2 separate regions of the Homo sapiens genome follow, and region 1 is linked to region 2. Evidence: promoter capture Hi-C in human tissues and cell types (Jung and others, 2019). All regions are on one chromosome and are shown on one strand. The core of a region is centred on a gene start or on the middle of the fragment in contact, and the rest is flanking DNA. Distances in the headings are between cores, read along the strand shown. Region 1 overlaps SCAI (suppressor of cancer cell invasion). Region 2 holds the start of HSPA5 (heat shock protein family A (Hsp70) member 5).

Region 1 (5,472 bases), core at 299-2,798, 230 kb after region 2:
GAGGCGCTCTGCTTTTTAGAGTTTCCAGTTTTTCTGCTCTGTTTTTTCCCCATCTTTGTGGTTTTATCTACTTTTGGTCTTTGATGATGGGGATGTACAGATGGGTTTTTGGTGTGGATGCTGTTTCTGTTTGTTAGTTTTCCTTCTAACAGACAGGACCCTCAGCTGCAGGTCTGTTGGAGTTTGCTAGAGGTCCACTCCAGACCCTGTTTGCCTGGGTACCAGCAGTGGTGGCTGCAGAACAGCGGATTTTCGTGAACCGTGAATGCTGCTGTCTGATGTTCCCCTGGAAGTTTTGTCTCAGAGGAGTACCTGGCCATGTGAGGTGTCAGTCTGCCCCTACTTGGGGGGTGCCTCCCAGTTAGGCTGCTCAGGGGTCGGGGTCAGGGACCCACTTGAGGAGGCAGTCTGCCCGTTCTCAGATCTCAAGCTGCGTGCTGGGAGAACCACTGCTGTCTTCAAAGCTGTCAGACAGGGACATTTAAGTCTGCAGAGGTTACTGCTGTCTTTTTCTTTGTCTGTGCCCTGCCCCCAGAGGTGGAGCCTACAGAGGCAGGCAGGTCTCCTTGAGCCGTGGTAGGCTCGACCCAGTTCGAGCTTTCTGGCTGCTTTGTTTACCTAAGCAAGCCTGGGCAATGGCGGGTACCCCTCCCCCAGCCTCGCTGCTGCCTTGCAGTTTGATCTCAGACTGCTGTGCTAGCAATCAGCGAGACTCCGTGGGTGTAGGACCCTCCAAGCCATGTGCGGGATATAATCTCCTGGTGCACCGTTTTTTAAGCCCGTCGGAAAAGCGCAGTATTGGGGTGGAAGTGACCCAATTTTCCAGGTGCCATCTGTCACTCCTTTCTTTGACTAGGAAAGGGAACTCCCTGACCCCTTGCGCTTCCCGAGTGAGGCAATGCCTTGCCCTGCTTCGGCTCGCGCACGGTGCGCTGCACCCACTGTCCTGCGCCCACTGCGTGCTCCCTAGTGAGATGAACCCGGTACCTCAGATGGAAATGCAGAAATCACCCGTCTTCTGCGTCGCTTACCCTGGGAGCTGTAGGCCGGAGCTGTTCCTATTCGGCCATCTTGGCTCCTCCAATTTTTTGTATTTTTAGTAGAGACAGGGTTTCACCGTGTTAACCAGAATGGTCTTGGTCTCCTGACCTCGTGATCTGCGCACCTTGGCCTCCCAAAGTGCTGGGATTACAGGCGTGCCTCCTCGCCTGGCCAACTGACTTTATTTTTATTTTTGAGACAGAGTCTCACTCTGTCCCTCAGGCTGGAGTACAGTGGTGTGATCTTGACTCACTGCCACCTCTGGCTCCTGGGTTCTAGTGATTTTCCTGCCTCAGCCTCCTGAGTAGCTGGCATTACAGGCATGTGCCATCACAGTGGCCCAGCTAATTTTTGTATTTTTAGTAGAGACAGGGTTTCGCCATGTTGGCCAGGCTGGTCTCAAACTCCTAGCCTCAGGTGATCTGCCCCCAGCTTGGCCTCCCAAAGTGTTGGGATTACGGGTGTGAGCCACTATGCTCTTTTTCCTCTTCTAGTATAAAAATCCCTGGGCTGGGCGTGGTGACTCATGCCTTTGGGCATGGTGGCTCATGCACTTTGGGAGGCAAAGTGGGGCAGATCGCCTGAGGGTCAGGAGTTCTAGACCAGCCTGGCCAACATGGCAAAATCTGATCTCTACTTAAAATACAAAAATTAGTCAGGCATGATGGCATGTGCCTATAATTCCAGCTACTTGGGAGGCTGAGGCAGGAGAATTGCTTGGACCCAGGAGGTGGAGGCTGCAGTGAGCCCAGATTGCACCGCTGCACTGCAGCCTGGGCAACAGAAGAAGACTCCGTCTCTAAATAAATAAATAAAATAAAAATCCAAAGCTGTAAAATTCTCTTTAAGCATTACTTTAATTTTATTCTACATATTTTGATATTTTGTATTTTTTCCAATCCTGCTTCTTCTATAATATTTTATATTTTATATTTTCTTTCAGTTGAATGTATTTTCTTATTTCTTTTTTAACTCTTACTGACAGTATATTGCACATCTCCAACTTGAGTTTGATAATTTTTTTTCAGCACTTTGAAGATTTAATTTCATTATCTTCTCTCATTTCTGTTGAGAAATTGTCTGTTAGATTTATTAGTCACATATTATATCCACTTAAGGAAATGTTTCTTTCCTCTGTGTGTTTTTAAGATTTTCTCACTTTCTTTGATTCTTTGCAGTTTTACTATGTTATATTCAGGTGCAGTTTTCTTTATTTATCCTGCTTGAGGTTCACAGAGTTTCTTGAATCTATGGGTTTATGTCTTTCATCTATTTTGAAATATGGTTATTATGTCTCTGAGTATTGTTTCCCTTCTGTTCTTTCTCTGCTCCACTTCTAGGACTCAGTTACATGTTTGTAGACCCGTTCACAGTGCCACGTGTGTCTGTTATATTCTTTTCTGTATTTTTCATCATTTTTTCCTCTCTAGGTTTAAGTTAGGCTGTTTTCTGTTGACTTCTTTTCCATTTCACTAACCATATCTTCTGATGTGTTTAATCTGCTATTTAACCTTTTATTAAGTTTCATATTTCACATATTGTCTTTCTTAGCTCTGGATTTTTCCATTTGATTCTTGTTTTATAGATTAAATTTTTTTTTCCTAGCCTGGGCAGCATGATGAAACCCCATTTCTACAAAAAATACAAATATCAGGCCAGGCAGTGGCTCATGCCTGTAATCCCATTACTTTGGGAGGCCTAGCTGGGTAGATCACTTGAGGTTAGGAGTCCGAGACCAGCCTGGCCAACATGGTGAAACCCTGTCTCTACTAAAAATAAGCCAGGCATGGTGGCTTATGCTTTTGATCCCAGCTACTTGGGAGACTGAGGCAGGAGGATCACTTGAACTCTGGAGGCAGAGGTTGCAATGAGACAAATTCGTGCCACTGCACTCCAGCCTGGGTGACAGAGTGAGACTCTGTCTCAAAAAGAAAAAAATAAAGGGCCGGGCACGGTGGCTCACGCCTGTAATCCCTGAACTTTGGGAGGCCGAGGCGGGCGGATCACAAGGTCGGGAGATCGAGACCATCCTGGCTAACACGGTGAAACCCCGTCTCTACTAAAAATACAAAAAATTAGCCGGGCATGGTGGCGGGCGCCTGTAGTCCCAGCTACTCCGGAGGCTGAGGCAGGAGAATGGCGTGAACCCGGGAGGTGGAGCTTACGGTGAGCAGAGATCAGACCACTGCACTCCAGCCTGGGCGACAGAGCGAGACTCCGTCTCAAAAAAAAAAAGAAAAAGAAAAAGAACTAAAAAACAAACCTTAGCTGGATGTTGGTCATGTGCCTCTAGTCCCAGCTGCTTGGGAGACTGGGGTGGAAGAATCACTTGAGCCCGGGAAGTCAAGGCTGCAGTGAGCCATGATTGTGCCACACACTTCAGCCTGGGTGACAGAAGCAGACCCTGTCTTAAAAAAAATTTTTTTTTTTTCTTTTTAGAGACAGTATCTGGCTCTGTCATGCAGGTGGGAGTGCAGTGGCACAGTCATGGCTCACTGTAGCCTTGACCTCCCAGGCTGAAGTGATCTTCCTGCCTCAGCCTTCCAAAAATGTTTATGTTTTATAGAGATGGGGTGTTGCTGTATTGCCAAGGCTGGTCTCAAACTCCTGGCCTCAAGCAGTCCTTCTGCCCTAGCCTCCCAAATGTTGGGATTATAGGCATGAACCACGGCACCTGGCCCTTTTTTATTTTTTAGTAGATTTTAATTCTCTGGCAGAATTCTCTATTTCTTCATTTGTGTTCTACCATGTCTATTTTGTTGATCACACTTAGTAGTTATTTTAAAGTCCTTTTCTGCTAACTATACTCTCTAGTTATGCTAACTACAAGTGTGTTGGTCTGTTCTATTGCTTGTTTCTCACTTTTAAAATTATCATATTAATATTTATAATTACTATATATCTGATAATTTGCTTGCATATTAATTTATAATCAAATCCCCCAGCATTCTCTTTCTTTTCTTTTTGTTTTGAGACAGTCTTGCTCTGTCACCCAGGCTAGCATGCAGTGGCATGATCTCGGCTCACTGCATCTTCTGCCTCCCTGGTTCAGTTGATTCTCCCACCACAAACTCCCCAGTAGCCAGGACTACAGGCACGCCCTACGCGCCCAGCTAATTTTTGTATTTGTTAGTAGAGATGGGGTTTCACCATGTTGGCCAGGCTCGTCTCAAACTCCTGACCTTAGGTGATTCACCTGCCTCAGTCTCCCAAAGTGCTGGGATTACAGGTGCGAGCCAGCACACCTGGCCTCAGTTTTTACATTTCATTTATTGTATTTTTTATTTTTAAAAGTATAGGTCAGGTGCAGTGGCTCACACCTGTAATCCCCACACTGTGGGAGGCCGAGGCGGGCAGATTACGAGGTCAGGAGTTCAATACCAGCCTGACCAATATGGTGAAACCCCATCTCTACTAAAAATACAAAAATTAGCCGGGCGTGGTGGCGTGCGCCTGTAGTCCTAGCTACTCAGGAGGCTGAGGCAGGAGAATCACTTGAACCCGGGAGGCAGAGGTTGCAGTGAGCCGAGATCGCGCCACTGCACTCCAGCCTGGGTGACAGAGCGAGACTCCGTCTCAAATGAATGAATGAATGAATGAATGAATGTATTAGGTTATTTTCTACATATTCCTTTGATTGGCTTAATCATGATTTTAATTACTTCTTCTATTTAAGCATATGAAACTAACTTTTTTTCTTTTAAGAGACCGGGGATGGGGGTGTGCATCTCACTATGTTGCCCCTTCTTTAATCCCCGCCTCTTGGCTGGTCTCCAGCTCCTGGCCTCAAATGATCCTCCCACCTTGGCCCTCCAAAGTGCTGGGATTACAGGTGTGAGCTGCCACACCTAGACTTTTGCATGTTATGTATGATGTTTGTATCATCCTGTTTCTGTTTGCTGAATCAGGCGTGCCTTTTTTCTTCATGCGTTTTATGATTTTTGTTTCTGAGTCTTCTTTGATGTAATTCTGTCAGCTAGAATTCTGTAAGACCTGAATTGAGGATGCCTTCTTCCAACGAAGATCTGCATTGCTTTTTCCCTCAAAACTTGGGGGCAGTATCAGTTTTTGTTCTTTTTAAGTGAAAAACCTTATAGATTTTTCAGCCATGCAAATAATGTTAATTCAGATTCTCAAACCACATGAGAATCAGCATATGGCCGTGAATTCTTGGGGGAGACTTTTCTTGATCTCTTCTCAGAACAAAGGCTAAGGTAGAGTTTCCTTCATGTTTATGTCTCTGGAGCAGATTTGTTTCTAGTGTTCTCCTCTGAGGCCATATCTTTTTGTGCATCCAGTTTTATTTGGGCATAGGTGTATGTGTGGGAGGGGCCATCTTCCAACCAACCAACCAGTTCTTAGCCAGGAGGCCCATGCTACCCTTACTACAGGAAAACAAGGCATTAGTGCCCACTTATCTCCTTAAACCTC
Region 2 (4,817 bases), core at 1,991-4,490:
TTTTGTATTTTTATTAGAGATGGAGTTTTGCCCTGTTGGCCAGGCTGGTCTCGAACTCCTGACCTCAAGTGATTCACCCACCTTGGCCTCCCAAAGTGCTGGGATTACACATCTGAGCCACCATGCCGAAACCCAAAATTAAGTCTTATAAATCTGAAGCTCAAGATGACAACCTATAGAGGTTAAAAATCAAACTGCCAAGGCTCAAATACTGGCTCATTATCTTAGGTGTGCAATCTCCTGGGCAAGTTTCTTTACCTCTTGGGGCTTCAGATTCCTTCACTCTAAAATAGGGGTAAGAAAAAAATGCTTTTTTGTTTGTTTCTTTTTGTTTTTGTTTTTGTTTTTGTTTTGAGACAGAGTCTCGTTCTGTGGCCAGGCTGGAGTGCAGTGGTGCGATCTCAGCTCACTGAACCTCCGCCTCCCAGGTTCAAGCGATTTTCCTGCCTCATCCTCTGAGTAGCAGTAGCTGGGACTATAGGCGCGCGCCACTACACCCAACTGATTTTTGTATTTTTAGTAGAGACTGGGCACCATGTTGGCCGGGATGGTCTCGATCTCTTGACCTCGTGATCCGCCCACCTCGGCCTCCCAAAATACTGGGATTACAAAAAACTGCTTTCTTAAAGATAAAAAGAGATAATGCACGTACGTCTTTAGCACAGTGTCTAACAGTTAAGTATTGATAACTTGACCTGGATATTATTTTTGGCATTTAATGTTCAGCAAGCTAGTTTTGACCATGTACTTTCCTATTCGTAAGTGACTGTGCTTTGGAATATACTAGAAAATGTATGTAAAATGTCTGGTTTTAAAAAGATGAAACCACAATATATTCAATTCCCTTTGGAAGTTAGCCATGTATCGCTTTTCTAAATTTTACAAAAAGGAGAGTTACAAAACGTTACTCTGTTAATCAAGGATAAGGCTGAAATGGAGAGTTTTTTTTTTTAATGGAAATGGACTGCACTATAAAAACATTTGATTGAAATGAAAGAAGCTGTAATGTGGTCAAATGATGATTTCTATCTTAATGCTGGACTGATGCAAGCCAAAGAAGGGTCAATGTTGCCGCAGGATTACAAGCCCTGCTGAAAGAGATGCATGATGCAACCTCTGTAGTGAACAGAGTCAACTCTTGAGTCACCAGTCTAACCTTTGAGAAGCACTAAGGAAAAAGAAAATTCTTGAGTACTGAGTCACAGGCTCAACATCTTAATAAAGTGTGTTTAGGATGTTTTAGTGGTATCTGGACACAGTATACCCATGAATCTCAAATATTTCATATCAGAGCTTTGCCCTTTCCATAGTAGGTCCTCCAAAAACATTCCTCAAACAAATGAATTTTTTTTTTTTTTTTGAGATGGAGTCTAGCTCTGCTGCCCAGGCTGGAGTGTAGTGACGTGATCTCGGCTCACTGCAACCTCCACCTCCCGGGTTCAAGCGATTCTCCTGCCTCAGCCTCCCGAGTAGCTGGGACTACAGGCATGCACCACCACGCCCAGCTAATTTTTGGATTTTTATAGAGATGGGGTTTCATCGTGTTACCCCGGATGGTCTTGATCTCCTGACCCCGTGATCCGCCCACCTCGGCCTCCCAAAGTGTTGGGATTACAGGCGTGAGCCACCACGCCCGGCCACAGATGAATTTTTTGTTTTAAAGTTAAGAGATCAGGCACAGTGTCTCACACCTGTAATCCCAGCACTTTGGGAGGCCGAGGTGGGCAGATCGCTTGAGGTTGGGAGTTCGAAACCAGCCTGGCTAAAATGGTGAAACCTCATCTCCACAAAAAAAAAAAAAAAAAAATTAGCCAGGCATGGTGGTGCGTGCCTGTAATCCCAGCTACTCAGGAGGCTGAGGCAGGAGAATCGCTTGAACCCCGGAAGCGGAGGTTGCAGTGAGCTGAGATTGCACTACTGAACTCCAGCCTGGGCGTGACAGAGTGATACTCCGTCTTGAAAAAAAAAAAAGTATTGGCAATAGAGTGAACTCCACCTGGTTATCAATCCTAACTCCATCACTCACCAGCTCTGTGACTTGTTTAGTTATTTAATCTTTTTCAGTTTCAATGTCCTCATCTGGAAAACGGGAAATGCCTACCGAGTATTGAACTGTCAAGACTAAATGACACATGAAAAGCACACTGAACAATGCTTAATCCACGGTAGGCTTTCAGCAAATAGTGGTCTCTATTATTTTTTGCAACAGGATGTTATATAAGAATAAGGCATTATCAAGACGATTTTCGCCTATCAAATGTGTTGTCTGCGTGTACATCAGACCTTTTCCTGGAATGAAGGTAGAAAAGTATCAACAATAAAGGATGGAGAAAGCCCCGTAAATGATAACCTTTGCCCCAGAGGGAAAGGATGGGCAGCGGAGGGGAAAGTAAAGGGTGGCAAGCTAGAAAAATTAGACATCCAGTGTGGGAGGGCTGGCACTGGAGTGGGTTGCCACAGTAGGGAGGGGACTCAGAGCTGGAGGCAATTCCTTTGGCCGGGCTTGTCCTGCGACTTACCGTGGGGCAGCGCAATGTGGAGAGGCCTGGTAAAATGGCTGGGCAAGGGTGCGGAGGGGACATAACTGGCAGGAAGGAGTCATGATTCGTGGTCGAACAGAGTCCAGACCAGCTCGACCTGTGAGCAACGAACGGCCCTGAGACTCGCATACCCCAATACCGGTAGTGGCCGTGAAGGGCAAAGAAATGTGTTCTGAGGCGATCCCAGCATCTAAGCTGCGACTGGTCTACTCAGAGACTGGATGGAAGCTGGGAAGAGAAAGCTGCTTCCCGCTTCGGGGTGAGGGATGGAGGAAGGGAGAACAAGCAGTAGAGAAGAAAAAGTTTCAGATCCCACAGCCCCGGGGGGTCACTCCTGCTGGACCTACTCCGACCCCCTAGGGCCGGGAGTGAAGGCGGGACTTGTGCGGTTACCAGCGGAAATGCCTCGGGGTCAGAAGTCGCAGGAGAGATAGACAGCTGCTGAACCAATGGGACCAGCGGATGGGGCGGATGTTATCTACCATTGGTGAACGTTAGAAACGAATAGCAGCCAATGAATCAGCTGGGGGGGGCGGAGCAGTGACGTTTATTGCGGAGGGGGCCGCTTCGAATCGGCGGCGGCCAGCTTGGTGGCCTGGGCCAATGAACGGCCTCCAACGAGCAGGGCCTTCACCAATCGGCGGCCTCCACGACGGGGCTGGGGGAGGGTATATAAGCCGAGTAGGCGACGGTGAGGTCGACGCCGGCCAAGACAGCACAGACAGATTGACCTATTGGGGTGTTTCGCGAGTGTGAGAGGGAAGCGCCGCGGCCTGTATTTCTAGACCTGCCCTTCGCCTGGTTCGTGGCGCCTTGTGACCCCGGGCCCCTGCCGCCTGCAAGTCGGAAATTGCGCTGTGCTCCTGTGCTACGGCCTGTGGCTGGACTGCCTGCTGCTGCCCAACTGGCTGGCAAGATGAAGCTCTCCCTGGTGGCCGCGATGCTGCTGCTGCTCAGCGCGGCGCGGGCCGAGGAGGAGGACAAGAAGGAGGACGTGGGCACGGTGGTCGGCATCGACCTGGGGACCACCTACTCCTGGTAAGTGGGGTTGCGGATGCAGGGGGACGGGGCGTGGCCGCCTGGCCTGGCGTGAGAAGTGCGGTGCTGATGTCCCTCTGTCGGGTTTTTCTGCCAGCGTCGGCGTGTTCAAGAACGGCCGCGTGGAGATCATCGCCAACGATCAGGGCAACCGCATCACGCCGTCCTATGTCGCCTTCACTCCTGAAGGGGAACGTCTGATTGGCGATGCCGCCAAGAACCAGCTCACCTCCAACCCCGAGAACACGGTCTTTGACGCCAAGCGGCTCATCGGCCGCACGTGGAATGACCCGTCTGTGCAGCAGGACATCAAGTTCTTGCCGTTCAAGGTTCGACCGGGTTTTTCTCATCCAGTTAGAGAACGGGTGGGTGGTGGGAGTATTTAGAGTTATAAGTCTCTGGAAAAGTGTTGAGACAACAGTTGAAGGTTATAGACATGATGTATGTAATAACTTTAATACTATTAGTATGTTACAAAACTTAAGACAGTTGCTGTCGTACTGTCTACGATAGTTTAGGAATAAAAGACCGATTAAAACTGAACTTTGTAAGACACCTATACTCCCTGAAGTATTTCTAGTCAATTTGCAGCCCCAAGGGACCAAAATAAACCAAATTGTGGGGATGGTAGTGGGTCTTTTAAACTTTGAGATGTCATTGTATCTGTGTCTGAAAACAATAATTCTTTAAAATAGGTGGTTGAAAAGAAAACTAAACCATACATTCAAGTTGATATTGGAGGTGGGCAAACAAAGACATTTGCTCCTGAAGAAATTTCTGCCATGGTTCTCACTAAAATGAAAGAAACCGCTGAGGCTTATTTGGGAAAGAAGGTAAATATTTCTAGAACAATGTTAAGTATTTTTTGATCATTAGTATTCTCGGTTGGCTGTTATGTATAGAAGCCTTCGTGAAGGGTTTCAAAAATTTTAATCAGAATGGTATTCATGCTTGTCAGGTTTAATTATTGAGTCCCTTACTATAAGCCAAACAAAATAGACTTTTCATGTATTATTTAATGCTTACAATTCCAGGGACATAAAATTTTATATGTTGTATTCATCAATAAGTTGGCTTAAAAACTAAAGTGATGGTTTGACTGTAATTTTTTTTTTTTGAGATGGAGTCTTGCTCTGTTGCCCAGGCTGGACTGCAGTGGCACGATCTCAGCTCACTGCAACCTCTGCCTCCCGGGTTCAAGCAGCTCTCCTGCCTCAGCCTCCCAAGTAACTGGAACTA

Evidence for each region. Contacts are between HindIII fragments. The study calls those that stand out against the background at their distance.
Region 1: a contact is called between a fragment that was not itself captured here and the fragment with the promoter of HSPA5 in region 2, in 1 of the 25 tissues and cell types used here (spleen).

The regions. Positions count from the first base shown.
Region 1 is chr9:125,005,657-125,011,128 of GRCh38, reverse strand. The region is part of intron 9 of SCAI (suppressor of cancer cell invasion); the gene reads left to right. Among named protein-coding and RNA genes, the nearest start is that of GOLGA1, 67 kb to the right of the region's middle. The HindIII fragment of the contact is 6,592 bases long and covers 1-4,844 here.
Region 2 is chr9:125,239,766-125,244,582 of GRCh38, reverse strand. HSPA5 (heat shock protein family A (Hsp70) member 5) reads left to right here and starts at 3,240. Exons shown (of 8, transcript NM_005347.5): 1 at 3,240-3,578; 2 at 3,676-3,907; 3 at 4,274-4,411. The coding sequence starts at 3,457. HSPA5-DT (HSPA5 divergent transcript) reads right to left here and starts at 2,927. Exons shown (of 3, transcript NR_186826.1): 1 at 2,520-2,927. RefSeq lists enhancers at 2,642-2,951, 2,601-3,105, 2,919-3,213, 3,106-3,610, 3,752-3,831. The HindIII fragment of the contact is 17,872 bases long and covers 1-4,817 here.